Linked DNA regions of Homo sapiens: region 1 is linked to region 2. The links are contacts of gene promoters, found by promoter capture Hi-C in blood cells and fetal thymus (Javierre and others, 2016). All regions are on one chromosome and are shown on one strand. Each heading gives the region's core, a stretch centred on a gene start or on the middle of the fragment in contact. The rest is flanking DNA. Distances are from core to core; before and after follow the strand shown. Region 1 overlaps RPL6 (ribosomal protein L6). Region 2 holds the start of TAOK3 (TAO kinase 3).

Region 1 (2,700 bases), core at 158-2,657, 6.0 Mb before region 2:
TACATAATTTTCTGCAATTTGCTTTTTAAGATAACAATAATCTTTTGTTATAAAAGCAGTATATGTGCTTTTAGAAAGTTAGCTCATGTGGGTAAGTAAAAGAAAATAAAGACACATGCCAGGCATGGTGGCTCACGTCTGTAATCCCAGCACTTTGGGAGGCTGAGGCAGGAGGATCACTTGAGGTCAGGAGTTCCAGACCAGCCTGGCCAACATGGTGAAACCCTCTCTCTACTAAAAATACAAAAATACAAAAAAAAAAAAATTAGTTGGGCAGAGTGGCAGGCGCCTGTAATCCCAGCTATGCAGGAGGCTGAGGCAGAAGAATCACTTGAACTTGGGAGGCAGAGGTTGCAGTGAGCCGAGATGGCACCACTGCACTCCAGCCTGGGCGACAGAGCAAGACTCCACATCACTTATGCCACATTCTATTGGTCAAAAGGGGCAGAATCTGTTTGATCCCAAATCTTTGAAACAATGCAGAGGCTAGTGCAATGATTCTCAAAGTAGGATCTAGGGATCTTTTTTTTTTTTTTTTTTTTTTTTTTTGAGACGGAGTCTCGCTCTGTCGCCCAGGCTGGAGTGCAGTGGTGGGATCTCGGCTCACTGCAAGCTCCGCCTCCCGGGTTCACGCCATTCTCCTGCCTCAGCCTCCCAAGTAGCTGGGACTACAGGCGCCCGCCACTACGCCCGGCTAATTTTTTGTATCTTTAGTAGAGACGGGGTTTCACCGTTTTAGCCGGGATGGTCTCGATCTCCTGACCTCGTGATCCGCCCGCCTCGTCCTCCCAAAGTGCTGGGATTACAGGCGTGAGCCACCGCGCCCGGCCGGATCTAGGGATCTTTAGATGTTCCTGAGATCCTTAAAAAGGGACCTGTGAAGTTAAAACAATTTGTCATACTACTGTTAAGACATTGTCCTTTTAACTCGAGTGTAGAATGGAGTTCTCCTGAGGTGTAATACATAATGTGATACTGCAATAGATTGAATAAAGCAGATATAAGAATCTGTCTCCTACGAAGCCAGACATGAAATACATTTGCAGAAATGTAAAACCATTGTCCTCATAATTTTTTGTTTTGGAAAAATTATTTTTTTAGAGACAGGGTCTTGCTCTGTTGCCCAGGCTGGAGTGCAGTGGTGCAATCACAGCTCACTGAAGACTCGAACTCCCAGGCTCAAGCCATCCTCCCATCTCAGCCTCTCAAGTAGCTGGAACCACAGGTACACGCAGGCTGGGCTTATTTATTTTTTGAGACAGAGTTTTGCTCTTGTTGCCCAGGCTGGAGTGCACACATTACAGGTGTGAGCCACTGTGCCTGGCTCAAGTTTTTTTTTTTAATAAAAATGTTACTTATATAAACATGACATGTCATTTTAAAATATTCTAGCAACTTTTTTTTTTTGAGACAGTCTTGCTCTGTCGCCCAGGCTGGAGTGCAGTGGTGTGATGTCACTTACTGCAACCTCTGCCTCCCGTCCAAATTCTCCTGCCTCAGCCTCCCGAGTAGCTGGGATTATAGATACCTGCCACCATGTCCAGCTAATTTTTTTTTGTATTTTTAGTGGAGATGGGGTTTCACCATGTTCGCCAGGCTGGTTTCAAAATCCTGACCTCAGCTGATCAGCCCACTTCGGCCTCCCAAAGGGCTGGGATTACAGGTTGAGCCATGGCACCCAGCCTTTTTTCACCTTTTTTGGACACAGGGTCTGTCATCCAGGATGGTGTGCAGTGGTGAAATCACAGGTCACCACAGCCTGGACCTCCTAGGCTCAAGTGAGCCTCCTGGCCCCACCTCCCAAAATGTGGGGGTTTCAGGTGGAAGCCAGCACACACAGCCCATTTTTCATTTTCCATTGGCAAAAATCCAAGTTTGATAACCTACCTATAAGAAGATGGGTACTCTGTACATTTCCAGAACAAATAAAGTGGTCTAACACTTGGGAGTGTTTGGAAGAATCTGCCAAAATTAAAATGCACAAATCTGGCAGGGTGTGGTGGCTTATGCCTATAATCCCAATACCTTGAGGTCTAGGCAGGAGGATAGCTAGAGCCCAGGAGTTGAACCAGCCCAGGCAATAGGAACTGGGGCCATATGTGATAAACGTGCCCATGAACAGCCACTGCACTGGCCTGGGAAACAAGAGCACGGCCTCATAATTATTGGGGAGGAGTTGAGAATTGAGCACAGCGGGGAGAAATGGGAGTTTGTTGTCTGAGTAGTCAGCAGTTATTCTCTTCTCTCATCCATGTACAGTTTAGCACTGACTTCTTCAGGGACGAGTGAGAAAATGCCACCACTTCACAATGGTAGAGGGTGGGTGAAAAAGTTATTAGCCAGGCACCAAGAACCAATCTGAAGCCAAGAACAGCAATGCAAAGCCAACAAACTAGCTCTCTTGTAGACACCACTCCCTTCCAATCCCATTCTCTACTAAGGAAAACCCCCAGGTGAGCTGGCATGGTCAAACTACACCTTCAGGTAGGTAAGAATTTTTTTTAAAAACCAAAAATTAAAAAAAGAGACACAAAATGTAGTCAGCTATTTAATTAGGTTCTTAAGACATTTAGAACACCAATTTGTGAGGATAAATTCCATTCGTCAGAGCAAACACAGATCGCAGGTAGCCCTGGAGCTGAGGAATAGCTTTGATTTTTGGTAAAATTTGTGAGTCCACAGCTTTCTGATCAATCTTGC
Region 2 (2,700 bases), core at 98-2,597:
ACCCTCAGGGAGGTCGCTGATGCCAGACCCTGGGAGCACCTCCCCGCTCCACTCGTCTGCGCTGCAGCCGGTTCCTATTTGCCCGACGCCGCGACTGCGACCCAGGCTCCCCGCCGCAGCCGTTCTTGGGGGGGCTCCCGCAACTCAGCGGGCGCGACCCCCCGCCCGCTCCCTCGCTGCTCACGCCGGGCCCCCGCTATGTGACTGGGGGCCCGACCCGCACCCATGGGGCACCGCTCCTCCCTCGGGGTCCGCGCCTGCACCCGACGCTCAAAGCCCCTCTCGGAGTCCCACGCTCGCATGCGCTGTCCCGAGCCCTCTGGGGGTCCCCTCCTCTCACCCCGCTGTCCTGGCCCCTCTCGGGGTCACCCTGCTCCCACCCGCTGTCCCGGCCTCTCTCTAGGTGTCCTGCTCTCAGCCCCGCTGTCTCAGCCCAGCCCCCTTCCGGGACCCCTCCTCTTCTCCCACTGTCTTGGCCCTTCCTGGGGTCTTCTCACACTCTGTTCTAAGCCCTCTGGGGATCCCCTGTCTTCACATCCCCTGACCGGTCCCCTCTCTTTACTCTGTCCTGGATTCTCTCTGGGTCCCCTCCCCTCACCTCGGGGTCTCCTCTCCCCGGGTGCTGTCCCAGCCCCTCTCGGGGTCCCCATCTCTCAGACTCTCAGTGCCGGCCCCTCTCGGGGACCCTTCCCCTCTCCCCGCTGTCCCTGACCTTTTCTGGGACCTGGTCCTTCAGGGGACCCCCTCCCCTCATCCCCCTATCCTAGTGCCTCATGAGGCACCCACCCCTCACCCCACTACCCCAGCCCCTCTCCGGGTCCCTTCCTCTCACGCGCACTGTCCCGGCCCCTCTTGGAGACCCCTCCCCTCAGACTTTCAGTCTTGGACCCTCTCGGAGTCCTCTCCACTCAGAGCCACTGCCTCGGTCCCTCTCGGAGTCCCCTCTCCTCACCCGCTGTCCCGGTCCCTCCCGGGGTCTCCTCTCCACAGTCTGCACTGTCGAGCCCGCTCCCGCAACTCCCCTCACTCTGCCTGGGGTCCCGCCGCCTCGGCTCCCACTGTCATGCCCCGCGCCCCGGTGCTCTCACCTCAGACCTGCTGTCACCACCCCCGGGCCCGGCGCCGCCGCCGCCGCTTCCTCTCCCACACTTGTTCCTGAGTCGCTCTCCTGTGGCTTGTTCCCCGGCGGATCCTTGGGTCCGGTCGCTGAGTGCCGGATCCGGCTGTGCGCAGCCTCTGCTCGCGGTCTCGGCGTTGCGTCCCACTCTCCACGCAGGACCCCGCCGCCCGGCGCCACAAGGACCCTCCCGCGGCCGCCGCCGCTGCTGCTGTCCGAGGTGCGGCTCCTGCCAGGGGTGGCCAATCGCACCGGACTGCGCCGAGCACGCCCCGCCCCACCGTCTCAGTCCGCCCGCCCCCTGCCCCGGACCACGCCCCAAGCTCGGCTCCAATAGGCTCTCTACTGACCTTCCCTGATCGCGGGGCACAGGGCCGGGGCCGTATATAGGTATTTGATTGATGGAGCCTGGGAAGCCGAGCGGTCGATGGAACCCGAGGATTGGCGGAGTTGTCGATGGGCGGGACAGGGCAGGGCGGGGTCTCCTCAGACGCGGAAGACCTTGCAACTTTAGTAACCTACGGGCCCGCCTGGGGTGCGGTCAGTCTTGTTTGTGCTGCTCTCCGGTCAAAGTTCATGGCGCTTCTCCCCACGCCTTTACTTTTCTTGGGAGATTCCCAGGGACCACCATGTTAGAGCCTTTGGGGAGGACCCCAGTCTCTCGCTAGACCTTGCACAGCTTTCTTAGTAATTCTGCCATGAACTAATATAGCATTAATTTGCCCAGGATTTGTAAAAATTTCCTGGATTTAAACCATTTCTTTTTAAAATCTCTTGCAAGGGAGTTGCCTCTCCTTGAATTGAGTTCAGCAGCCGTCAGTTTGATACCGTTGGGGGAAAAAAAATCTATATACAGTACTAGGTGCATACTTTGCCCAACTAAGCGTTCAATGCGGGGCACATTTTGATAGGTGCAAGGACAAAGCTTTAGAAATTTTCAGTTTGTAGGTTTTTATGACAGTAGGAAGACTGTGGTAGGGGAACCCTATTATTAGCTTAACAAGGTTTCAGCAAAGCTATTCAATATAACCTTTTTCCAGGGCCACAGGTTTTAATGATTCTATGTGAACGTGTGGCCAAAGGATAACGAGCTTTGACCCAGGTTTAACATGTGATAATCAGAGACTCCTCTTGATCCACGCTAAAGGATAGTGCCTGCCAGGGGTGAAAGTGCATCATGCTACTAAGACCCATTTGTGTTATTTTTGTGAAACTGGATATGCTGATCAAATCAACACCGGAAACAGAAAACTGCTTTCCTTACTCTTAACGCCAAAAGTAAGTTTATGGACTTTAGAATTTAGCATTTTATGAAGAAATTGTCTCAGGAACACATTTTGATCCTAAGTTTTGTCAGATGTATACAGGCCTTAGTTCTCAGAGAACCCTCGATTGTTAACTTTTTAACTCCAGCTGACAAAATGTGTTTGTGTTCTAAACAGTATACATGTTTCTTCTAGTGTTTTAAGAATCATACGCCATTCATCACCTGAGGTCAAGGGTTCCAGACCTGCCTGGCCAACATGGTGAAATCCCGTCTGTACGAAAAATACAAAAATTAGCCGGGCATGGTGGCACCCACC

The links. The method cuts DNA at HindIII sites, captures the fragments that hold promoters and counts their contacts. A CHiCAGO score of 5 or more calls a contact.
Region 1: a contact is called between a fragment that was not itself captured here and the fragment with the promoter of TAOK3 in region 2, in 1 of 17 cell types (neutrophils). The highest score is 7.1, in neutrophils.

Annotation. Positions count from the first base shown.
Region 1 is chr12:112,402,655-112,405,354 of GRCh38, forward strand. RPL6 (ribosomal protein L6) reads right to left here. Exons shown (of 7, transcript NM_000970.6): 7 at 2,535-2,700. The coding sequence ends at 2,570. Among named protein-coding and RNA genes, the nearest start is that of RPL6, 5.6 kb to the right of the region's middle. The HindIII fragment of the contact is 3,014 bases long and covers 1-2,700 here.
Region 2 is chr12:118,371,560-118,374,259 of GRCh38, forward strand. It overlaps TAOK3 (TAO kinase 3), which reads right to left and starts at 1,348. Exons shown (of 21, transcript NM_016281.4): 1 at 1,089-1,348. RefSeq lists silencers at 188-277, 378-437, 1,222-1,471 and an enhancer at 1,792-1,841. The HindIII fragment of the contact is 12,374 bases long and covers 1-2,040 here.